Linked DNA regions of Homo sapiens: regions 2, 3, 4, 5, 6 and 7 are each linked to region 1. Evidence: promoter capture Hi-C in 16 types of primary human blood cells and fetal thymus (Javierre and others, 2016). All regions are on one chromosome and are shown on one strand. The core of a region is centred on a gene start or on the middle of the fragment in contact, and the rest is flanking DNA. Distances in the headings are between cores, read along the strand shown. Region 1 holds the start of PABPC1 (poly(A) binding protein cytoplasmic 1). Region 2 holds the start of COX6C (cytochrome c oxidase subunit 6C). Region 3 overlaps LOC124901993. Region 4 has its middle 33 kb from the start of LINC02844. Region 5 holds the start of FBXO43 (F-box protein 43). Region 6 overlaps SPAG1 (sperm associated antigen 1). Region 7 overlaps LOC107984005 (a long non-coding RNA gene).

The links. The method cuts DNA at HindIII sites, captures the fragments that hold promoters and counts their contacts. A CHiCAGO score of 5 or more calls a contact.
Region 2: a contact is called between the fragment with the promoter of COX6C here and the fragment with the promoter of PABPC1 in region 1, in 2 of 17 cell types (fetal thymus and naive CD4 T cells). The highest score is 5.4, in fetal thymus.
Region 3: a contact is called between a fragment that was not itself captured here and the fragment with the promoter of PABPC1 in region 1, in 2 of 17 cell types (total B cells and naive B cells). The highest score is 5.7, in total B cells.
Region 4: a fragment that was not itself captured here is called in contact with the fragment with the promoter of PABPC1 in region 1 in 13 of 17 cell types (total B cells, naive B cells, fetal thymus and 10 more); the score reaches 13.7 in total B cells.
Region 5: the fragment with the promoter of FBXO43 here is called in contact with the fragment with the promoter of PABPC1 in region 1 in 8 of 17 cell types (neutrophils, naive CD4 T cells, non-activated CD4 T cells and 5 more); the score reaches 12.5 in neutrophils.
Region 6: a fragment that was not itself captured here is called in contact with the fragment with the promoter of PABPC1 in region 1 in 1 of 17 cell types (neutrophils); the score reaches 6.9 in neutrophils.
Region 7: a fragment that was not itself captured here is called in contact with the fragment with the promoter of PABPC1 in region 1 in 2 of 17 cell types (total B cells and M0 macrophages); the score reaches 6.7 in total B cells.

The regions. Positions count from the first base shown.
Region 1 is chr8:100,720,259-100,723,669 of GRCh38, reverse strand. PABPC1 (poly(A) binding protein cytoplasmic 1) reads left to right here and starts at 1,582. Exons shown (of 15, transcript NM_002568.4): 1 at 1,582-2,279. The coding sequence starts at 2,087. RefSeq lists enhancers at 455-955, 956-1,456, 1,511-2,343 and silencers at 746-1,455, 1,536-1,615, 2,296-2,405. The HindIII fragment of the contact is 6,173 bases long and covers 1-3,411 here.
Region 2 is chr8:99,892,072-99,895,482 of GRCh38, reverse strand. COX6C (cytochrome c oxidase subunit 6C) reads left to right here and starts at 1,776. Exons shown (of 4, transcript NM_004374.4): 1 at 1,776-1,844. RefSeq lists a silencer at 1,995-2,164 and enhancers at 1,638-2,285, 2,286-2,934. The HindIII fragment of the contact is 2,962 bases long and covers 778-3,411 here.
Region 3 is chr8:101,312,432-101,315,842 of GRCh38, reverse strand. LOC124901993 reads right to left here. Exons shown (of 6, transcript XM_047422526.1): 2 at 1,532-1,767; 3 at 327-476. The coding sequence starts at 436. Among named protein-coding and RNA genes, the nearest start is that of LINC02844, 51 kb to the right of the region's middle. The HindIII fragment of the contact is 6,164 bases long and covers 1-3,411 here.
Region 4 is chr8:101,294,187-101,297,597 of GRCh38, reverse strand. No RefSeq gene overlaps it. Among named protein-coding and RNA genes, the nearest start is that of LINC02844, 33 kb to the right of the region's middle. RefSeq lists a silencer at 1-101. The HindIII fragment of the contact is 5,723 bases long and covers 1-3,411 here.
Region 5 is chr8:100,144,131-100,147,541 of GRCh38, reverse strand. It overlaps FBXO43 (F-box protein 43), which reads left to right and starts at 1,725. Exons shown (of 5, transcript NM_001029860.4): 1 at 1,725-2,491. The coding sequence starts at 2,407. RefSeq lists a silencer at 1,542-2,001 and an enhancer at 3,113-3,262. The HindIII fragment of the contact is 15,929 bases long and covers 1-3,411 here.
Region 6 is chr8:100,190,711-100,194,121 of GRCh38, reverse strand. It overlaps SPAG1 (sperm associated antigen 1), which reads right to left. Exons shown (of 19, transcript NM_003114.5): 9 at 2,626-2,732; 10 at 1-10. Among named protein-coding and RNA genes, the nearest start is that of SPAG1, 34 kb to the right of the region's middle. The HindIII fragment of the contact is 9,407 bases long and covers 1-3,411 here.
Region 7 is chr8:101,245,093-101,248,503 of GRCh38, reverse strand. The region is part of intron 1 of LOC107984005 (a long non-coding RNA gene); the gene reads right to left. Among named protein-coding and RNA genes, the nearest start is that of LINC02844, 16 kb to the left of the region's middle. The HindIII fragment of the contact is 2,102 bases long and covers 622-2,723 here.

The DNA.
Region 1 (3,411 bases), core at 333-2,832:
TTTTATCCTCTTTTTAATAGGAGCAAAATAGTATTTATGTGGGATTCCACTGGTTTAAATTCTAATTAAATGAGACAAGATATAAAGTACTTAATTCCACACCTAGCAATACAGTTGACATCCATTAAAGTTTATTGAATTAAGGAATAAATTGGGCAATCATTTAACTTCTTTGAGACTGTTCCTGTAACAGTAAAGTAAAATTATTACTACTTGCTCCACCTCCCACACCAGATTGCTCTCAGGAACAAATGATAGTATGTTTACGCGAGTGCTTTAAAAACTGTAAAAGCACTTTACTACTTTCGAGTGGAATTTGTATGTTGATTTAATGTCATTCCTAGAGCCGGTTTTTATTACTATCAATTCGTTAAATTTAGCATTCCTATTAAAACCCACTACTAATGTGCAGAATTGTTTTAGTTATTTATAAGGACGTTGTTTTAGACTATTCCTAATTTTGTCTGGTTGCAGGGCTGTGGTGCCATATAGTAGTGATTGTGACAAACCCGTACTTTCAGGAAAAACATTCACTTTTCTCCACTCCTGGTTTCTATCGCCAAGAAATGTCTGGCAGAAGCAGCACAAATCAATGATTCCAGCCTAGCACCTTAAGGTAAGAAGTGACCAAAGACCCCCAACACAGCTATCCCAAATTAAAGCCACTTTGACCAACGACAACGTCCAGTGAAGACACGGAGGAGGGTCGGGCTGGAAAAGAAGAGGACGAGGAACCCGAGGGGCCCTCCCCTCTCTCTCCCTGCCCCCCAACCCCGCGCCGGGAGCTCCAGCGGTGCCGGGGTCCAGCGCGCAGGACGGTTGGGGGGTCCCGGAGCGGGCGGCCAGGACCCGCGCAGCCAGTTGGTGTCAGCGAGCGCCGCGGCCGTTGGGGACTCCAGCTCCCAGCAGGCACCGCTTCTGCGGCCGACGCGCGTGGCGGCGGTGCCGGCTGGGACTCGTAGTGCGGTCCGGGTAGGAGAGAGCAGGGGGCCACGCTGGCTCCATCTACGCACGTTTCGGAAACCGGGCCCGGAGGGGACCACGCCCGCTCACCCGTGCCCGGCGTCCCCCGGAGCTGGGGCTAGAGGAGCCGGGCCGGCCGCAGCGGGAAGAGGCCACAGGCGGCCGCGCACGTGGGGGGTGGTTAGCGCGGAGGAACCCGGAAGCCCTTTGCACCGCCCACCGCCGCGGTGACGGGTTAACGCTCCTCCTGGTGGAGGCAGGGGCGGGCGGGGCGGAAGGCGGGGACGCCTCAGCCAACACCCCCGAGGACCGCCCGCGAGCCGTCCTCCCCACCCCCACGGACGCGACGCAGCGCGGGCTCCGCTTCCCCGGCCGCGGCGCCTGCGCAAAAGCCCCGCCCCTTCGCCCGAGCCCCACCCCCACACCGCAGCCTCCACCGCCGCCACCTCTCCCTTCCTCTCTGCTCTTTCCTCCTGTTTTCTCTTCCCTCCTCCCCCTGGCCTCCGCGTCTCCTCCTACTCCGGCGCTGACGCTCGCGTAGGGGCCCTGGCGTCAGACGCGCGGGGGCGGGGCGAGTGCGGCGCGGGGTATAAGTAGAGGGTGCAGGAGGCGGTGCTTCCCCTTCTCCCCGGCGGTTAGTGCTGAGAGTGCGGAGTGTGTGCTCCGGGCTCGGAACACACATTTATTATTAAAAAATCCAAAAAAAATCTAAAAAAATCTTTTAAAAAACCCCAAAAAAATTTACAAAAAATCCGCGTCTCCCCCGCCGGAGACTTTTATTTTTTTTCTTCCTCTTTTATAAAATAACCCGGTGAAGCAGCCGAGACCGACCCGCCCGCCCGCGGCCCCGCAGCAGCTCCAAGAAGGAACCAAGAGACCGAGGCCTTCCCGCTGCCCGGACCCGACACCGCCACCCTCGCTCCCCGCCGGCAGCCGGCAGCCAGCGGCAGTGGATCGACCCCGTTCTGCGGCCGTTGAGTAGTTTTCAATTCCGGTTGATTTTTGTCCCTCTGCGCTTGCTCCCCGCTCCCCTCCCCCCGGCTCCGGCCCCCAGCCCCGGCACTCGCTCTCCTCCTCTCACGGAAAGGTCGCGGCCTGTGGCCCTGCGGGCAGCCGTGCCGAGATGAACCCCAGTGCCCCCAGCTACCCCATGGCCTCGCTCTACGTGGGGGACCTCCACCCCGACGTGACCGAGGCGATGCTCTACGAGAAGTTCAGCCCGGCCGGGCCCATCCTCTCCATCCGGGTCTGCAGGGACATGATCACCCGCCGCTCCTTGGGCTACGCGTATGTGAACTTCCAGCAGCCGGCGGACGGTGAGCGCCGGGCTCCGCGGTCGGCCGGGCGGGCGGGCGGCCATGAGGCTCGGGCGGCGGCGGCGGGCGGGGTAGGCCGGCGGGCCCGGGGAGGGGGGCGGGAGGGCATGTCACCCCGCGACGGCCGGCGGGAAGGCGCCGGGGTCCCTGGAGCCGCGTTTCCCGAGCCGGCGGGGACCCGCGCTGCCGGCAGCCACACGCCCGGCTACTTCCTCCTTTGCGACCATTTTCTCGGCCTCAGACGCTCTCAAACTTTAGGGTGATGACGCGCCGGGAGGGTGGGTGAGATTCGGTTCCTCCGCGGCGCTCCCGCCAGTGGCCCCGGGATTCTGGGGCGTTGAACGCTGAGCTCCTTCCGTGGGTAAGAGGTGGAGGCGCTCCCACCACCCGGAGCTCCTGCCGGCGCCCCAGCCTGGGGAGGAAGTGCAGTTCTGTGCTCGAAAAATACCACGTGTTGAACCCTGTAACCTCGCAGGCCCGAGGCCTGCTTCTGCTCCTGCTCCTGGCCCAGTCGCCTGGGGGAGCCACCAGGCCTTAGGATAAAGTTCCTGTGGCGATGTGTGGTGTGGTGGTGGTCCTCAGGCTTGTGAGTCCACTTCCCAGAACTCATCAGTGACTGATGGATCTAGGAATGGAATTTACCGGAGACATGCATTTGGGGTTTCCCCTAGATCAAGCATTTCTCTAACATTAAAAGGGCAGAGTGGGAGGAGGGGATGTGGCAGCCGACCACTTTGAAGGCCAGTTTTCTCAGGCAACTTAGACCATTTTTAGTCAAATTTTATCTTAGATTCACAGTACTGGTGGTTTTCGAGTATATTATGTTACCTTCTGAAATAGTTCCTGTCGTTTTGAGGGGCTTTTCTTTATAAAATAGTCAACTTTGGCTATAAAATGTTACTTTAGTGTAATTCCAACTGGACCAGTCTTATCTGTAGCATGCAAGAAGTTCAAGTTTCTCTTTTATTTTTAAAAGTGGCCCATGATACCTGTAAATCTTGGGAAATGACTGAGTACAAAATAACGGAGATTAAATTGAGCTTGAAATTTATGGGGGAAATGCAGCTAACTTTGTGCTTTTATTTTGAAGCTAAACAGTTAACAGAAACACAATTTTGTAAACAGATAATAT
Region 2 (3,411 bases), core at 527-3,026, 830 kb after region 1:
GGCTAGAAGTGATGAAGGATTGATTAAGCACTGCTACTAAAAGAAAGATTGAAGGAATGCAGGACAGGCAAAAGAACACAGGGAGGAATGCATATTCAGAATGTCTGTTTGTCAAGCACTGTATAGGTTGAACACCCTTAATCTGAAAATCCAAAATCCAAAACGCTCCAAAATCCAAAACTTTTTGAGCACTGATGTGATGCTCAAGGAAATGCTCAGTGGAGCATTTTGGATTTCAGATTTTCAGATTGGGATGCTCAACTGGCATGTATTCTGCAAATACTCAAAAATCTGAAAAAATCCAAAATCTGAAACACTTCTGGTCTCAAATATTTCAGATAAGGGATACTCAAGCTGCATATACATTATCCCATTTAATTTACATCACAACCCAACAAAATGGGTACTATTTTTAGAGGAGAAAGCAGACTTAGAAAGATGAAGAAATTTGCCGCTACAAGTTGATGAGCTGGGACTCAAATCCAGGTCTGTTCGGCTCTAGAACAGAACCTATATGTAACATGTCTCTCTTCATCTATCGCTCAGGTTTTATTCACGTGTCACCCTCAGTCATTCACTATGGTTCACTGGATAGCTAGGGAAGCACAGAACAAACACTCAGTATTTCACTCAGGTCAGGCTCTGTGCCCTGAGTGTGCCTGTCTTTGCCATGTTCTCCCAGCCAATGTTTTCTCTCCAATTTCTCCAGTTTTCCAGGCTTTCCATTAGACTGAAACTCAGCTCTGCTTCCATCTCTTCCACGTATTGTCTGAAGCTTTCCCTGATGGTTTCACATACACTAATCCCTGTGAACTCTTAAGTTCACCACTTCTTCTCTGGGGGTGGGGATGGAAAGAGAATAGAAACAAATTACTCTCTGGACAAATTCCATGCAAAGATTTTCAGCTGGGTAGACCCTTGATAAGAGGCCTGAAAAACGTTGGTAAAGTCCAAACCTACTTTTGAACCTCAATTGAGCACCTTTCTTTGTGGCCAGGTTTCACCCTCCAGAGTGTTGGTTAATAGGTTGAGGACAAAGACTCCCTGATCAGAATGAGACTCCCCGAAGATCTGTCCTCTTGTTTAGCAGAATCTGGCACATAGTAGGTACTCAGTGTATATATCGACTCAATATCATGCATCTGTTGTGTCCCAGCTACCTTCCACAGGGCTTGATGGGTTGACTTAAATAATGCTTTTAAAATTCAGGTTATTTCAATACAAACAGCCTGGCATCATTAAGGCACAAGAGCCTCACCCTTCTACACCACTTTCCACGAACTTCCAGTTGCCTTCCTTCAAAATCCTTGTTTTCTTAAGAAACCCACAAAAATACCGCCCCTCTATCAAAACGTCCTCAGCTTTGCCAGGTAGAGAATTGCTTCTGCAGTAGCTGGGCCACGTCTCTGTGGTAGTGCCCACTGCATGGGATCGGTATTAATCTGTTTGTCTTTTTCATCTTCTGGGCTGTGAGCTCCTAGAAGTCAGCTTTTTCACTTTTACCCAAGCCAAACGGTTATTCGCGTAAGGTTGGTTATAATTAAAATGTCGGTTTGTGCACATGGTTTGGGACTCTGTGTATGAGTACGACTAATATCTTCAATTTACTAAGAAGATAAAGAGGTCGATAAATAAGGAGGTCAAGCCCGTTTTGCAAGGTCACACAGGAAAGAAGCAGACCACGAAATGAACTTCGGCTGTCACCTGCGGTGGGCGCACTAGAGGTCTTTTGAACTCCTTCGGCTACCGTCGCCGCGTTCTCGCTGTGCACTCTTATTCTGCGCCTGCGCGCGGCTACAGCACGGTTCGTTTTTCCTTTAGTCAGGAAGGACGTTGGTGTTGAGGTGAGTCCGGTCCCTTTTGCATCCCTACCCCGACACTGCGGGTTGTCACAACGGCACCCTCCCGCTTTCTCTCTGCCTCGGATTTAGTCGTGACTGTGTGTCTCCGCCGTGGTGCAGCTTCAGGCCTCTCCCGCATCTACTCTCTCACGCTTCCGCTGCGGCCTGAGGGAGGGCGGCGGGCGGACCACGGACCGGGGTGGGTTGCGACGGCCCCACCGAAGCCGGGTGGGCTGCGGGACCCTCGAGAACCCAGCTGGCTTCGGAGTGAGCTGGCCCGGGGCTGGTACCCGCTGCGCTTTTTCACAGCCATTGTGACCTTGGTGAGGTCATTTGACCTATCTGGCCCCGGTGTTTCTCCCGTGAGAAAAGGGGTGGTGGTTTCTAATGCAGCTGGTCGTGAGGCGCAAGGGTTAGTGTAGGCGAAGCAGCTGGCAGCGTCGCTCGCTGTGTGGCAGCGTTTTAAATTAGAGCTGGAAAACTGGAGGAGGGTCACCGTACCTGCCGCAGGAGGGGAAGGATGGGCTTCCTGCAACCTCCCTTGCCCCACGGCTTCCCATCCTACCCCCGGCCGCGTTAGCTGAAGGCCAGCAGGGACGCAAAAGTTTTTAGGCCCCTTAGGTCTTTAGGTGAGGCTGGGCAAAGGAGCAGTTAGGGAATTTGGGCCCTCATGGTATTTGCCGCGTTCCCGTCCAGGTTTTAATGGTATACCGTGTGACCGTGGAAAACACCTGCCTCATGATCTGACAGGGTTGTCGCGAAGGTTTAACGAGTGGACAGAAAATTTTTAGAAGAGAAAGTGTTGCATAAATGGGTTTGCAATCGTTAATTACCAATGCGGAGCTACTGCTTATTTTTCTTGTTGTTGGAAAGATTTTTGTTGCCTTTGCTCGTCCATTACTAGTGTGCCGCAGTTTGTCGCGTTTATTTAGGGTGGTCGCTCAGTATATGGGGGGCGGGGGGAAGATGAAACAGGCTAAGCCAAGAGACAGCTTAGGCTTTGTGGGAGGAATCCATCCACTGTCGTGCTGTGCCTCTCTAGGTAGTAAAATGTACTATGCATGAGAATTCCTTTTGATATCTTTTCTGAGTTTTTCTTTTATTATTTTACCCGAGAAAGGGAAAAAAAGCTCAGAGTAGTGAGAGCTACATGAGGTATGCAGGACGCAGAGACCTGAGTATTGGACTTCAGTGCCGCCCCTCACCCATGTCTCAACCCAAATCTTATTCCTGAATTTGTGATATAAAGGACAGCGTTTAGTCAGTCAATAGCTTATGTTATTTTAATGTAAATTTTTGATAAACAGTTTAGGAATTGCCTCTCATTTTTTCTTAACTCACTTGTAGGCCGGAATCCCAGCACTTTGGGAGGACGAGGTAGGATGATCACTTGAGGGCAGGAGTTTAAGACCAGCCTGGGGAGCATAGCTAGACCCTGTTTCTGCCAAAAAAGAAAAACATTCATTTGTAACTGCTGCTAATCGGAGTGTATATTCAGGGCAGCTCCAATCAATGCTTCCAGGTGGCCATTCTCAAGTTTGTGGCTTAAATAAACTCTGTACTTAATCAT
Region 3 (3,411 bases), core at 545-3,044, 590 kb before region 1:
CTCAAAGAAAAAAAAAAAAAAAGCACTAACATTGTCCACTACAGTGGTCATTAAGATTGAAGGGTTAATTTGCCATGGGAATGGCTGAAAGCCAAGACCCATATTCCAGAGGCAGGAAGAACAAGAGGAACTTATGAAGGAGAAAGGAGATGGGCAGAGGACCCAAGAATTCAGTTAATGAAGATATTAAACCAATTGCGCTAGTTTTGTAGTAACTTTGGATCCCAACGCAAAAATCAAGACAGCTGACCAACCAGATATAGAGGGAGACAAAGGGACACTTTTGAAATGAAGATTGAAAAATCTGGGCCATGTCGTTGTTATACCTGGGTTTAATGTGTGCTGGAAACCTGGCTGATGGAGCCTCAGGACCAAGATGAAGAAGATGAAGCCTCCTATTTCCATCTGTTGATCCCATTCCATGATGGTCAGCCATATTGGAACATTCACATTTCCCAGCGTCTGGATTCTGGCTCCTGCGGAGTTGAATAGTAAACAGCACTGAGCACTCTGGTGGTGACCGTAACCAGAGTCATCTGAAAAAAATCATAAAGTAAAACCACAAAGCTCTGATTTGAAAAACATCATCTAAGACAAGAAATCTATTCGATGTCTGAACATACTCATCATCTCTGCAGGCCTGGCCAGCCGACTTTCAATCAAACTACAATGTCTAACAAAATGTTTCTCTGTTTTTAAGAAAAACAACAACAATAAAAAAATCTCTTCAGAGACAGAACTATCCAGGAGATCGAAGTTGTGAGAACAAACATTATTTTCACATATTTCTTTTAAAAGGAGACATACTTCTCAGGATAGTTCCCTAAATAAATAATTATCCAAAGGGCACCTTCTTCACCCTAGCCTTCTTTTTTTTTTTTTTTTTTTGAGACAGAGTCTCACTCTGTTGCCCAGGCTGGGGTGCAATGGCACGATCTTGGCTCACTGCAACCTCCACCTCCTGGGTTCAAGCAATTCTCCTGCCTCAGCCTTCTGAGTAGCTGGGATTACAGGTGCCCATCACCACACCCGGCTAATTTTTTTTGTACTTTTAGGTGAGACAGGGTTTCACCATGTTGGCCAGGCTGGTTTTGAACTCCTGACCTGGTGATCTGCCAGCCTTGGCCTCCCCAAAGTGCTAGGATTACAAGCGTGAGCTACTGTGCCGAGCCCACCCTAGCCTTCTGAATCTGAGACTCAGAGGGGTCCCAAGGAAAATCAGGTAGCTGCTACTTCAAGAAAGGGATGCTGGACTGGCAGGAGTGACAGATGTCCAGACACAGGATTTATGAGTGTCAGCTGATCATGACCAAGCATAGACCTCCCGTGGAGACAAACTGAAAGGCCATGTGGATCTAGAAGAGCAAGCAGCCCGCAAACATCTCAAACAGTGACACCATTTACAAAGGGCTGCCTTCTTGGCTTTCATACCTAGTCAGAAAGACAAAGAACTGCAATACTGCTGGCAGTTACTATTTAAGGATTTACTTGTCAAGTTGCTAAGGAAGTTGCAGAAACAGATGGACAATACCACTTAGGAGATGAAATCTTCAGAGTTCCTGAGGGTTATGGAGCCCCATTTCCATCCCTCCCTCATGCCATCTGGGCTTTGATGTGGGCTGTGACAAAAATACCACCACTTGACTGCAGAACTGCAGGATGTAAAATATGGCAATTTCACGGAGCTACATTGATAACATTCCTCAGTTGGTGTCTTAGCTGCCATATCTGTCTGACAACCTTGCCTTTCAATTCTTTCTGTGATACCTGGAAAACAAATATTTATGAAACGGAGAGAAGAAAGTATGAATTAGGAATATGCAATTGACATCAATATACACCAAACTCCAAGCTAGACACTGCCACATGTAATTTAATTTGATCTTCATAGTAATCCTGAAATGCTGATCAGAGAGGTAACTTTAAAAAAACTTAGTCTGTAGTTTGGGAGATAAAGCATACACAGAGAAAGGTTAAATGATGAAAACAACAGGTTGCAATAATAGAAAGGATTCATTCATTCGTTCATTCATTCATTCATTAATCAATAAACAATTACTGAGCACCTGACAGGCACTGTCCTAGGTACTGGACAAACCATGGTAAGGAGCTCACATTCTACTGAGGGAGACAGTCCGTGAACAACATCAACACGGAAAGAAGGTGGTGACAAGCGGGATGGTGGAAAGTGCTCTGGAGAACCAAAGGCTGCCAAGTGTGATGCCCAGTGAACTGCCATGAAGGGAGAGAGGAAGAGATGGGCTGAGCCTGGGCTGCCAAGGAGGACGCCTAAAGGAAGAGAACTCAACCTTGAACTTGAAGGATGAGTAAAATGTAAATGAGAAGAGTGCATTTATCTGTTCACCACTTAGGCAATATTTAGTGAGCACTACTGTCCATTAGAAATTCCAGTAACAATTAGGCTTTGTCCAGTAAACGATTATTACTGGAATGCCTGACAGAGAGATAGTTGCTCAATAAGTTAACTTAGCTTATTTCATGTGTGTGTGTATATATATATATGTGAAGTATATAGGCCAGGCTTGGTGGCTCATGCTTGTAATCCCAGCACTTTGGGAAGTCGAGGTGGGTGGATCACCTGAGGTCAGGGGTTCGAGACCAGCCTGGACAACATGGTGAAACCCCATCTCTACTAAAAATACAAAAATTAGCAGGGCATGGTGGCATACGCCTGTAGTCCCAGCTACTCGGGAGGCTGAGGCAAGAGAATTGCTTGAACCCAGGAGGCGGAGGTTGCAGTGAGCCGAGATCATGCCACTGCACTGGACGACAGAGTGAGACTGTGTCTCAAAAAAAAAAAAAAAAAAGAAAAGAAAAATATGTATCTCATATATATACATATAAAATATTTATAATCACATACACGTGTACACACACACACACATTCAGAGCTTATTATTATCTATCTACCAGGTGAAGTCCCAAGTGCTTTATATACTTTACTTCATTTCACCCCCAATGTACAAATGAAGAAACTGAATTATGGAGAGATTGAGTAACTCTAAGTCACAAAGCAACAGAGCTGGGATTTAAACCCAGGTAGTTCGGTTCCAGAGCGGCACTTTTAAGCAGCAGTCTGCAAAGTATGGCCCATGGACCAACTCCATTGCACTACCTGTTTTTATAAACACAACTTTACTGGAATATAGCTATACCTGTTCATATTATCTATGGCTGTCTTTGTGCTATAAGGACAGAGAGACCATATGGCCCACAAAGCCTAAAATATTTACTATCTGGCTCTTTATAGGCAAAGCTGGCCTTTAACTATCACACCACACTGCTTCCATGGATGGGGTGGAGACGGTGATAAAGTCCAGACCCTGCCCTCGAGAACATCACAGCCTAGTAAAAATAAGAAGCCATTTCAGTGCATCCTGCTCTCACTAT
Region 4 (3,411 bases), core at 439-2,938, 570 kb before region 1:
AATGAAGTCTAAGCCTCTGAGTTTTGGGGTAGTGTGTCATGCAACAGTAGCATTCTTCCCCCTGCCTCCACCACCAGCCTGCCTACCACAGGGGAAGAAAGAGCTGTTGGAAATCTAGGCCTCACAAATCACCTCAGAACTGTCTCTTCTTTTTAGATCTTCCTGGGTGTGGACAGTTGACAGTCGCATACACTGTGCTCTGGGAAATCCAGGGCTAGTCATTCAATGGAAAGTAGGAATTTGGGGCCTCAGATGAGATAACATTGCTGCTCTTTTCTCCCTTGAATATGGAACTTTCTCAAAACTGTGAGCCTCCATTCACAAATAGCTATGTAGTCATCATCAAATGGTATCAGTTTTGGACCTTCCCTGTTTATATGAAGCTGTGCAGACATTATATAAATTTGCCATTCACCTTAAATCTAGGCAGGTTCTGTGAGTGTTTCGATCAGGTCCAGGCTTTAAGAGTCAGGAAACTTTCATTTCCTGTTGCTCAGAGCACGGGCTCTGGGAGCCCTCCATGAAAGAAGCTCAACTGCTTTGCTGGAGAGACAACATGGAGAGGCTCTCCTGGGAGAAGAAGAAGGGCTCAGCTGAGCATTGCCTTCCAGCTGTCCCTACCAAGGCACCAGGTGTGTGTGTGGCCTGACCCTCCAGACAGACCAGCTGCCAGCTGATAGCCACTGAATGTTCCCTATCTATATCACAGGCTGCAGCCAAGTCCTCCCTAAATTCCTGATCTATAAAACTGAGACAGAAGAAAGTGATTGTAGTGTTAGTCCTCTAAATTTGGGGGTAGTTTGTTATGTAGCAACAGGCATCCACAACAGAATTTGATGACTGCCATGTGCATTGTGAGCTAGTTATTTTCTACAGGATCTGAGGATAGAAATGTAGGGGGCATCGATCTGCAAATCCCAGTCAGTATCCACATCACATAGTGCTGATTTCAGACCCCTCTCTCTGCATAGTGATAAACTAATGAGTTTACTCATCTCTGGAGCAGGGATCATTGAAATGGGAGTCACAGAGTTGTTGGGGTGACAAAAGAAATAAGAAGAGCTTTAAAATGTGAGAAAGCCAACCCAAATGTTTTAGTTAGCAATGGCAGTTACAGTCACAGTATCACAGGAGAAATGAAATGGAGAATAGTCATTCTTGTTTTAACATTGTCTTGTTTTAATATTGTCTGGTTTTAAAATCGCTTGTTTTAATATTGTCTCCAAGTATGGATATTGATCATGGGTTTAAAGCCATTTGACTTTTCATCACAACTCATTTTCAATATTTAAGAAGAAAAAATAAAACAAGGGAACATGAAAACGAATTACTTTTTTCTCCCTGAGAGTTTGGGATCGAATGTGTTACTTGCTAATGTATTATGTAATTTGTGGATTATGTAATTTGTGGACAAATTTATTCTCTTCCTGTCCTGAGCTGACCCCCTTCTCTCGCCTGCCTTCTGTGATTCACATGCACTTTTATGTGTGCCCTTTCACTACAGTGTAATAAAAATCTGCTTTGTAGACTATACTTAAGCCTGTGACTACTATTTAAAATCAATTGTCCTTCAGAAAGGTTGGTCAAGCCTAACACAGATAATGATTAAAGACTGGAATGGAAGAAATCTGCCTCTCCAGGGAAGATGGGTCAGACAATCATGGCATGAACTTGAGCCCAGAAAACAGCCAGCACATACAAGTCTAGAGAGCTGCCTTTGAAGACATCTCTAGTTTAGTCTGCACATAGTGAGATCTGCAAAAGATTAGAAGCTGGAATTCAAGGGCTGTCAGGAACCAGACCAACACAGCCTCTGGGACCCAAGGCCTTTGATTAGAATATACGGAAGTCTGTTCTCGAGTAACTGAGAAAGAATATACAAATGCAGATTTCTTTCTTGTAGAGTAAGATTCTTGGGCCAAATTTTGAATTTTAAACACCAATTTGGAATTTCCGTATGTTTTTGGCTTTTGTGAAAGGCTTTGCTCATTGTTGACTAGCCTACTCTAATCAAAACCAAATCAAACGAATGGGTTTGAAAAAAACTATGAGGCAGGCCTGTCTTTGCTTAGCTTCCCTCCAGGACTGCTGTGTTTGAGGAGGTTAGGAAAGATCAGTGTAGCCTGGAGCAGGAGCTTTTCTGTGCCTGAGGTCTTCACCTTTTCATTTGACAGAGTCCCTGTAAACGTGGGTAACCTGGCTCTTCCAAGATCAGGGCACCATCCTCCAAAGGCAGCATCCCTTGTTTAGAAAGGAAGTGGTAACTCCCTGGATATTAATATTGAAGCCAAAGATGGGATCTCCAGTCCAGTCCCATGCTCTGAAGAGAAGGGGAAATTGCTGATACTGTGTTCCCTGACAGTGATCTACGTTTGCTTGAGCTGAGAAAAGAATGGAGGCGTTCCTTTTACCAGCAAAGCGGAAATTTTTCAAGACTGAATTCCCTGACATTCAGAGATTCTACCCTCAAAACGGCCAAGCCCCAGAACCAAGGTAGTGTGGTGGCCACAGAACACAGCAAGCAAGAGTAATGTGCCCCAGAGGAGCCTGCAGGTGTTAACCTGCAAACCAGCACTGCACAGGTGAGGACAGAGGCACTGGGGGTGAGGTGCAGATGAGGGGCCTCCCAAACTGAAGCCTGGGGGCAGGGCTGAAAGGGCAGCAGAGAGACCAAAAGTAGGAATTTGCAGACAGGCAGGCTTGGCTCTACCATTCATGTGTGCTTTTGTCAAGTCCCCTGACCTCTAGGCTGGAGTTTCCCCATGGGAGAACGAGGGTATCACCTGCCTTGTGCTGGAGGTTGTTTGAGGATTCTGTGTGAGAACATTTGCTGCAGGTCACCCTGATAGCACAGGGAGAAAGTGGGCAGGAAGGAGCTGCTGCAATGTAAGATTCAGGAAGCCACGGTCAATCTGGGGCAGGCAGGGCTGAAGTTCAATGCGAAGTCATTCCCAGCTTGGAGGCGAGAAGCGATGGTTCTACATAAATATTTACGGCCACAATCAGGATTGCTCTGGGATCTCAGGAGAGAGTGCGGGGAGTACCCCTAAGTCTCTCCATCATCATTAACCTCCTCAGCTGTGCAGACAAGGATGGCTGGGCTGGGGACACCAGGTCACACAGTTGAGCTGACACCCACCCAGGCTGTGCATATCCTCAGTTGTTAACAAATGCTTCTATAAATCCCCCACAGTTCTGAAATCCAAGTTCTGTTGCTTTTCCAATCTTCATGTTTCCATCTGGCAAGATTTTTCTCCTTAAAACCAATCAAATTTGATGAAATTTGGCTTCAGATGAATATTTAGAAAAAGAATTAAGTGATGGGTCTTTATTTCTCATTTCTTTTTGCAGCTGTTATTCCAAGTTACCAATTCCCAAAATAAACTTGCTTTTTTGCTTTGAACCAAGAAT
Region 5 (3,411 bases), core at 476-2,975, 580 kb after region 1:
CTTCACTTCTCAGGAATTTTCTCTAATCCTTTCCTCTAACAACTCTTAGTTTCTGCCTATAACAAATTATTTGCAGCTTCTCCATGTGCCCAACTGCTCTTGCACATTTTGTTTTGAGTTTGAAATTTTCCTGCCCTTATACATTTTAAGTTTGGAATTTCCTGCTGTCTGCCTTTTAAATTGCCACTTGTACATCAAAATCTATCTCATGCACTCTGTTCTCCAGTAGAGTTAGCTGGTTCTTCTTTCCTTTGTGCTGCTACTGTTCCTCTGTTACAGCACTTGCTCTATACCAATGAGCTCCTTAACAGCAGTAACTGTGGCTGTGTCAGCTCTGTATTCCCAGTACCTAGCACAGTAATTGGCACATAGTTGGAATTTAATAACTGTTAGTGGACGGGCACAGTGGCTCATGCCTGTAATCTCAGCACTTTGGGAGGCTGAGGCAGGTGGATCACCTGAGGTCAGGAGTTCGAGACCAGCCTGGCCAACCTGGCAAAACTCCGTCTCTACTGAAAATACAAAAATTAGCTAGGCGTGGTGGCGGGTGCCTGTCATCCCAGCTACTCGGGAGGCTGAGGCAGGAGAATCGTTTGAACCTGGGAGGTGGAGGTTGCAGTGAGCCAAGATTGCACCACGGCACTCCAGCGTGCGTGACAGAGCGAGACCCTGTCTCATAATAATTTTAGTGAGTTTGGTTTTGGATGACTGAGGGACATCCAGTTGGAGAAATGTCCAGTCAGAGAAGAGTGGTGGTAGTGCCTGTTATTGGCTTAAAAGTGATGGTTGAAGTTCTGAATAAGAATTACATAAGCATGGGATGATAAACTAATAAAAATGCTGAGGTAGGACCTCTCATTTAGGGAGTAGGCCAAGGAAAAGAAGCCAGAAAAAGGAGACTAGGAAGAAGCTGCCAAGAGCAGCAGGAGTGTCCCTGGCATATAATAGACGCCCAGTAAATATTTATTGAATGAAAAAATTAGGGTTTAAAAAATTTATTTGGCTTTGAGGGTACTTGGGAGTTCATGATGCCCAAAAATGGATGTTTGTAAACAATGAACACATTTCACTCTGGTTTTTATGAATAGATTTTTTAAAAATCTTTTTTTTGAGATGGGGGTCTCACTATGTTGCCCAGGCTGGTCTCAAATTCCTTGGCTCAAGTGATCCTCCCACCTCTGTGCTGGGATTACAGATGTGAGCCACCAGGCCCGGCTCAGCTTTTTTATCACAAAATCTGTATATATTCATTGTTGAAACATGAGAAGAAAACACAGATAAAAAGAACTAAAAAGCAAACATAATCCTGTACAAATTTACCGTATCCAAGTTATTCATACCTTTCAGACCTCATCCTGTGTATATCCATATTTTTAACCTAAAAGGGGTCAGTTTGTAACTTGCTTTTTGCACTTGACAGTTTGGAGAATCATTTCCAAGGGAACATTCTCATACATGATTTCTAATGGCATCCCACTGTAGGCCACGTTAGCATTCCTAAATACGGTAATGCTTCCCAAAGTGGGAATGGGGAGAAGCAGAGCCTTTCTGACCCGCCTCGGGACGGGTGCAGGGGTGAGCGAGAGAGGGGGCGCTCCTCCCGCTCAAGCGAGGACCCAGGCCTGCGGGCGGCCGGGCGGGAGCGCTGCAGAGCCGGAGGAAGGGGCGGGACAGCGCGGCGCGGGGCGGGGCTGCGCTTAGCGGTTACCCCGGGCGGGCCGTTCAAACCTAAGGAGGTAAAGGCAGCGGCCCCACGCGAAGCTGGCGTGGGGGTTGCCATAGCCCGCATCCCAGGGGGCGAGGCCGAGGCTTCTCCCCGGCCCATCCAGCGGCTGCTGCCCGGCTCCTCTCCCACCTGTCCGCTTCGGCGCCTCGCCCGGCCCCGCGGCCTCCAGGCAGGCGGCGGGACCCCAGGCGAGTGCCCGTTAGCGGGTCTCCCGGCGGCCCGGCCCCGCGTCGCCCTGTGTCTTCCAGGTGCTGGGCCTAGGGAGGCGCGCGGCAGCCCTCACTCCTCCGCTCCTGGTGACGCCAGCCCATCCCCTGCTGCCCTTGGCTTTCTGGGCCTAGCGGATCTTTGACGCCCTGGTGAGACCGTTACCCACCCGCCCGCCATAGCTCCTCGGGGGAGTCAGTGCCAGGCTGCAGCACACGCTGCCTTTTCAGGAACCCGAATTTGGGAAGTTTACTCATGTCTAAGTCCAGCTGGAGAAAACAAGGATATTAAGATAACTATTTTCTGGAGGGCTGAAGGAAATTCAAAATGATTTAGACCTTCTCAAGTGTTAGGAATAATCCCTGCGGCATGCACCCTGTGTACCCTTCGACTTTGAGCAATCATGATGCTGCTGCACCTTTCAATTAATTGTGCAAACTAAAGTTTTCCTCTTTAAGTGGCATTATTTTGGCATGAGTTTTAAAGACAAAGATGAGAGAATTTCTTGTTTGGAAGCCTACGTAACTTTGACATCTAAGAGCTCAAGATTTACTGATGGTAAGAGTTTCCACTTTAACAAATGAAGAACATTTGGGTTTAATGTAAGTACTTCATTCTCTGATGTGGTAGGTGCTTTTTCTTTTTTTTCTTTTTCTTTTTTCTTTCTTTTTTTTTTTTTGAGACGGAGTCGCTCTGTCGCCCAGGCTGGAGTGCAGTGGCGCGATCTCGGCTCACTGCAAGCTCCACCTCCCGGGTTCACGCCATTCTCCTGCCTCAGCCTCCCGAGTAGCTGGGACTACAGGCGCCCGCCACCACGCCCGGATAATTTTTTTGTATTTTTAGTGGAGACGGGGTTTCACCGTGTTAGCCAGGTTGGTCTCGCTCTCCTGACCTCGTGATCCGCCCGCCCCGGCCTCCCAAAGTGCTGGGATTACGGGCGTGAGCCACCGCGCCCGGCCGCTGCTTTTTTTTTTTTTTTTCTTAAAGAACACTTTAGGAATAAGTTTTCTCAGCCTTTTATCAGAAGCCTAGTTTTTAAAAATGAATATCGAAGAGGCTTGATTGATTTATCCGTGAACTGTTGAGTCCATAAAATACAACAGACAGTCCATGATTTTACATGAATAATTTTAAAATTCAGTTGCGAAGAACCACGTTTGAGACCAACGTCTTGGGGTAGTAGAAAGATGAAAATGCTAGCAGAGAAAGGACGTTGGAGGCAACTTCAAGTGTGTAGATGAACAGAAACAATTTTTTTTTTAAGAGATGGGGTCTCACTATGTTACCCAGGCTGGTCTTAAACTCCTGGACTCAAGCATTTCTCCCGCCGCGGCCTCCTAAAGTGCTGGGATTACAGGCGTGAGCCACCGGCCAGAATAGATTTTTGGATAACATTTTAGAGGAAAGAGATAATATCTGCATTCCCCACTTTGTTTTTAACAATTTGCCTCTGAGTTTCCCAAATTCTAGCATTGTGA
Region 6 (3,411 bases), core at 489-2,988, 530 kb after region 1:
ACAAGGTTTTCTGCAACATAATTACCATATTAAAGAAAATATTTTCCTCTAATAATAAATATAACCATTCTTTCAGGTTAAAAACATAAAGATGTTGAAAAATGAATACAACTAAGACAAGGCTTTTTTTTGGTGGCCTTTGATTGTAATCATAGATGTCCACTGTAAAAAAAAAACACACACACACAAAAAGCGGTGTAACAAGTATAAAAAATAAAGAAAAAATCACCTAAAATCTTGCCATTCAGATACTACTATTAACATTTTGATAATCATCTTTCTAGATGTTTCTATGCATATATACCCACAGAGATGTACAGTTTTACACAAATGAAATCATGCTACATACGCTGTTTGTTTATTTAAAATATAGAGATGAGGTCTCACTATGTTGCCCAGTCTAGTCTCAAACGGTGGGATCAAGCAATCCTCTCACCTCAGCCTCCTGAAGTTCTGGGATTACAGGCGTGAGCTACCACACCCAGCCCACATTACTGTTTTAGAGTAATGCTGAAAATTCTGAAATATTTTATGCTGACTCTGATGAAAAATAGATATATCATCCTTTGTTGGATATACGATTTTCAAATATTTTCTCCCAGTCTGTGGTCTGTGGCTTTTTTGTTTGTTTTGTTTTGTTGTTGTTGGTGTTGTTGTTTCTGAGACAGGGTTTCCCTCTGCTGCCCCGGCTGGAGTACAGTGGTGCAATCACAGCTCACTGCAGCCTTGACCTCCCGGGCTCAAATTATCCTCCCACCCCTGCCTCCCGAGTAGCTAGGACTACAGGCCCACACCACCATGTCTGGCTAACTTTTTAAATTTTTTGTGGAGATGAAGTTCAGCTGTCTTGCCCAGGCTGGTCTTAAACTCCTGGGATCAAGTGATCTGCCTGCCTCAGCCTCCTGAAGTGCTTGGATTACAGGTGTGAGCCACCGTGCCCAGCTGTGGCTTGTCTTTTATTCTTCTAATAGTGTCTTTGAAAAGTATATGTTTTAAATTTTGATGAAGTCCAATATATCAACTTTTTCTTTTATGGATTGTACTTTTCATGTCTTACATAAGAAATATTTGTCTAAGGTCATAAAGATTTTCTCCTATGTTTTCTTCTAGAACTTTTATATTTTATATCTTACATCAAAAAGTATATGATCCATTTTGAGTTAATCTTTGCATATGGTTAAGATAAAAATGCATTTGAAACCAGGCACAATGGCTCATGCCTGTAATCCTAGCACTTTGGGAGGTGGCGTGCACCTGTGGTCTCAGCTACACAGGAGGCTGAGATGGCAGGATTGCTTGAGCCTAGGAGGTGGAGGCTGCAGTGAGCCATGTTCCCACCACACTACAGTTGAGGCATCAGAGCAAGGCCCTGTCTCAAAAATAAATAAACATAACCATTACAAAAAGGAAATACTAAGCCAGGCCCTAAACCTAAACCTAAAATGTTGACTTGACAAAGCAGCTGATATTCTAGGAACATTAGCTGCCACTCAGAGACAGTGGGATAGGTAACCCAATAGGTGTATGTGGAAACTTAGTAACAATTTTTCCATGGGTTTCTCTTATTTCTGACTATACTGCCAGCAGAGGCACTAAACCACCTTCTTTCTGGACATCTCTAAGGATGTTTGTACTGAGAACAACCTTGGCAAACAGAAATAGTATTCATCTGCAGCGGAGAGGGCAGGTGTGTTGGCTCTCCAGTGTAATAAAGGTGATGCTTCCCTATGGAGCAGAGATTGGGCAGGTTTGCTTATATCCCATCATAAAAGAAGCAGGTTTCCTAAATTTTTGTTTGTTTGAGATGGAGTCTCACTCTGTTGCCCCAGTTGGAGTGCAGTGTTGGCCAGGCTGGTCTTGAACTCCTGACCTCAGGTGATTTGCCTGCCTCAGCCTCCCAAAGAGCTGGGATTACAGACGTGAGCCACTGCACTCAGCTGGTTTCCTAAATTTTTGATTTGTCAGCCATCACATAAATCCATTGAGTGTGCAACATCCATCTGGGCCACTCTATGTCACCCCTGTGGGACTTGGGAGCAAGGGGAACTGACATGAACGTGAAGCTCATCTGCTTGGAGTGACAAAGTCTTTTCGTGTTTGACTCAGGATATCTTGTATCCTCTGGTAGGCCACCTTGTTCATTTGTAAGCAGGGGAAAATCTCAGTTCTTGACACTTACCTCTACTCTTTAGGCGTGAATACAGATCCCCTAAGTGTATAACTGAGTCAGTCTGCTCAGTCAGGTAGCAAATGCTACCATGCTCATTACAAAGAGAAACACTCTTCAATGGCCACAGAGTTCACCCCTAATCCTACCTAGGAAGGTACCTTCTATACCACTCCACATGGCTCAGAGAAAAACATTGCCTACAACACTATAGGAAAAAGAAAAATTGATATTTGTCTTTCAGAGGAAGGTTTATAGTTTTGAAAAAAAATTTTAAGATTCTGCTTTCTTCCACTTGAAATAGATGTTAACGTTTTGGGGTGTCTGGAATATACCTACCTTTTAAAGCTGTGACCTGATCTTCAACATAATTTGTTTGGCAAGATTGATACCACTTTAAAATAAATACAGAAACAGCCAACTACAGAATTAGGTGAGAAATCACATTCTATACTTACCTTGGCCAAATCATTATCAGGCTCAACATCTAGTACTTTACTCAAATCTTCTGTAGCTTCCCGGAGCTTGTTTTGATGTTTATATGTAGTAGCACGACGCAGAAGAGCTGAAAATTTACCAATATAAAAGTTATGTTTTTTAATATGTGGCATTATGGTTACAACATATTTGGCAAGTGGAAGATATGAGCAGCACAGAATACTTTAGGATGTAATTACCCAAAGCTCAACTACACCCTTTTTCATGTTGATACACACATAGGAGATGACACTGAGGTACATAAAAGAGGCTACATCAGCCAGCTGTCCCCTCTATAACAACCCTCTGGCCCTCTGGCAGCCCCAGGCCCCGCCAGCTTTTCCAAGAACTAAGAGATTTCATACCTCAACCCTTCACAGGCAACACATTGTATTGCAATATCGGAATGATTTTCACTGATAATAATCCTTTCCTTTTTATAATTATGGCGAGTATTATTTAGCCACTTTTTGAAAACATAAAATCCCTTATCAAAATTTAGTATATTGGCTAGGCACAGTGGCTCACACCTGTAATCCCAACAATTTGGGGGCCTGAGGTGGGCAGATCACTTGAGGCCAGGAGTTCAAGACCAGCCTGGCCAACATGGCAAAATCCCATCTCTACTAAAAATACAAAAAAAAAATTAGCTTGGCATGGTAGCACACATCTGTAATCCCAGCTACTCGGGAGACTGAGGCAGGAGAATTGTTTGAGCCTGGGAGGTGGAGGTTCCAGTGAGCCAAGATTGTGCCACTGTACTCCAG
Region 7 (3,411 bases), core at 423-2,922, 520 kb before region 1:
ATAAGAACCACACTTTTGCAGCCCAGATATTTTGTTCTTGTTGCTATTAATGTTTAGCTGGAATGTACAAAGTCACAAGGGCAGGGAATATGTTAAATTTTTTCATGTTTCCCTTGGTGTCAAAGTGCTTAGGATATAGTTAGCACTCAACAAATATCTGTTGACTATGAGATTATTATAAATATTGGCACAAAAATTAGGAATGAATACATTACATTACACAAAGAATTCTGGGATATTCTTGGGATGACATCATGATTGTCAGATTTTTTTTCGTCTTTAAATGCTTGTGTATCTCATTGTATCTCATTGCTGACTTACAGAAATTATTTACTCCAGACTTTATTATTTTTACACTGTATTATAAATTCCAAAAGGTTATTTATTTCTGTGTTGTTTACTTCTGTATGCCCATGGCTGGGCCCAAGGCTTAGTACATAGTAAGCACTCCATGAATACAGGTTGTTGCATTTCATTTTTACAACCCAGTAAGACCATTTGCCACCCCGCCATTTAGTGATTGTCAGCACAACTTGTGGTTCTTGCCTAAGAACACTGGCTGGTTTCAAGACTTTGCAGCTAGCTTTAACTCTTAGACAGCAATGAAATATACAACAAGCTTCCTAACACTGGGCCAGATAAGCTCTTAGCATTTATAAATACAGAAACAATCAAAGTGCCAATGAGTATACCAGACAGCTTAGCTCTGGGACTGAACAAATAAGAGTTCTATAAGCACTCAAATAATCAATAAGCCTCCTTCTCACTAATATAAAAAATTACTTTGGCAGCTCTCTCACAAACTCTAGTTTCTCATCTGTGCAGAAAGTATTTTCTGAAGTATTTGTTCTTTTGAGAGCTTACAGATGGCAATGACTTACAAGCCTGTTTAATTCTAGTAACACACTTCATGATCCTAACCAAATTCCAAATGGCATCAGTTGACTAGACTTGAAAACTTGGATGCTCACAAAAATTGCATGCTAAATGCTTGTCAATTACATTCTGAAATAGTAGGCAGAGATGTGGATGGAAAAGGCCTTGAGATACAAGGATGACATGGAGAAAAGGACAGTGATAGGAAGGAACACAGATTGTTTGGATGACATTAAATAGATCAGTATAAATAAAGCAAAGTTTGTGAAGAAGAGATAAGATATGATATATGGATTGGGCTCTTACATGTTTACTCAAAAGCCTTGAATTCCATGTATTAGTTAGATATTGCTGTATAACAAACTGCAATAAAACTCAGTGGCTTAAAACAAAAAGCATTTATTATTGCCCACAATGATATATTATTTCCCACAGTATTGAAGTTATTTTGGTCCTGACTGGGCTCACTCATATTTCTGCAGTCAGGCAGGCTGTTCTGCTGATCTTGGCTGGTCCCTCTCACATTTTTGGTGATTGTCTGGCTGTAGGCTTTTATAGGAAAGAGTTAAATATTGTAGTTCTGATGATGTTGCTCCTCCAAAGGACCTGCTTATAGAGCTGACCCTTGGCTGGTTTCTAGGACCTTTGCTTTTGGAATGCTTCCTATGTTACTATTTATATTAGTTTTCTATTGCTGATATAACAAATTACTATAAACTTAGTAGCTTAAAACAACACAAATATTTTATATATTAGGGCTCTGGAGATTAGAAGTCTAAAATGGATCAGAAGGACTGCATTCCTTCTGGAGGCTCTGGAGAATAATTCATTTTCTTCCTTTTCAAACTTCTAAAGACCATCTGCATTCCCTGGCCCATGACACACTATGGTTTGGATGTTGGACCAAACCTCATGTTGAATTTGATCCCCGATGTTGGAGGTGGGGCCTACTGGGAAGTGTTTGGGTCATAGGATCAGATCCCTCATGAAAGGCTTGGTGTAGGATTTGGAGTAATGAGTGAGTTCTCACACTATTCGTTCCTAAAAGAGCTGGTTATTGAAAAGAGCCTGGCACCTCCCTTCCTCTCTTGCTTACTCTCTTGCCACACAGTCTTTGCACACAGAGGATCCCTTTTGCCTTTTGACATGAGTGGAAGCAGTTTGAGGCCTTCGTCAAAAGCAGATGTTGGTGCCATGCTTCTTGTACAGCTGGCAGAACTGTGAGCCAAATAAACCCCTTTTCTTTGCAAATTACGCAGCCTCAGCTATTCCCTTATGGCAACACAAAAGGACTAAGACATGACCACTTCCTCTATCTTCAAAACCAGCACCAAAGCATTTTCAAATCTCTCCCTCCTTCAGCGGATCTCTGCGCTCTACTTCCTTTATCTTGCCCTTGCTGACTTTAATCCTGAATAATTCAGGAAAATCTTACCATTTCAAGATCCTTAATGTAATCATATGTGCAATGTCCCTTTTGTCATGTAAGGTAACATATGAACAGGTTCTGGGTATAGAAACTTAACCACCTTCAAAGGGCCTTTATTCTATCCTTCTATCTACCACCTAACTGATAAGGCTGTTTGGCATGCCCACGGCACTGAATCCTACCACACCAGCTTGCCTAGAATGTTTATCCAAACACTGTGATTTACACTGGACTGGAATTTCAGTAATTGTGGCTGATCACATAGGCATCCTCTGCCTATTTCTGCAATAAAATCCCAGGACTCTGAGCCTCCAGTCAGCTTCCCTAGTCAGAAATATTGTGTATGTGTTACTTAATTTTATTGCTGGAAGAAAAAGTGTGTTCTGTGTAATCCACCTCCTGCACCAGACACAAAGCTTTGGAAGCCTGCACTTAAACTCCTCCAGACTGATGTGACTTTTTCCCTTGTTGATGCTGTCTTGTATCCTTTGATCACCTATAACCATGAGCACAACTGACTCTGAGTCCTGGGAGTCCTTCTAGTGAGTCATCAAACATGTGGGTGGCCAGAGGACTCCTCCCCCTCCCCCAGACAAGGCTGATCTAAGATTAGACTCAATTGGGACAATGAGGCTCCCCTCTCATGATTTCTCTTCCTCCAGCAGGCTAGTCCAGGCTTGCATTCTCATGAGAGGGTTCTGAAACACAGTGGCAGCTGCAAGGCCTCTTGAGGCACAAGGCAAGCTGATATTCAAGGGAGGGAGAAGTAGATTCTACCTTATGATGAGAGATTTTCAAAAATCTCACTGCAATGGGTATGGATACAGTGAGGTTTTTAGCTGGCAACATCAATTCAGTCCATCTACTATATCCTGTTAAGAGCTTGGACACTCTTCAGTAGTAATGGGGAATGAGAATTACTGTTTTTATAACAGGAAAATAAGATAACAAAAGCAGCACTTCTGGTTCATTAACTGATGGTGAGAGTAAGATGGATTAACAAGCAGGAAGCCGTAGAGACAAAGCAGTTAGAAAGCTGCTGGAATGCACTCATCAGTGATTGGAACACCAGCCAGAAAACCAAGTTATCTATTTGAAAATGGAAG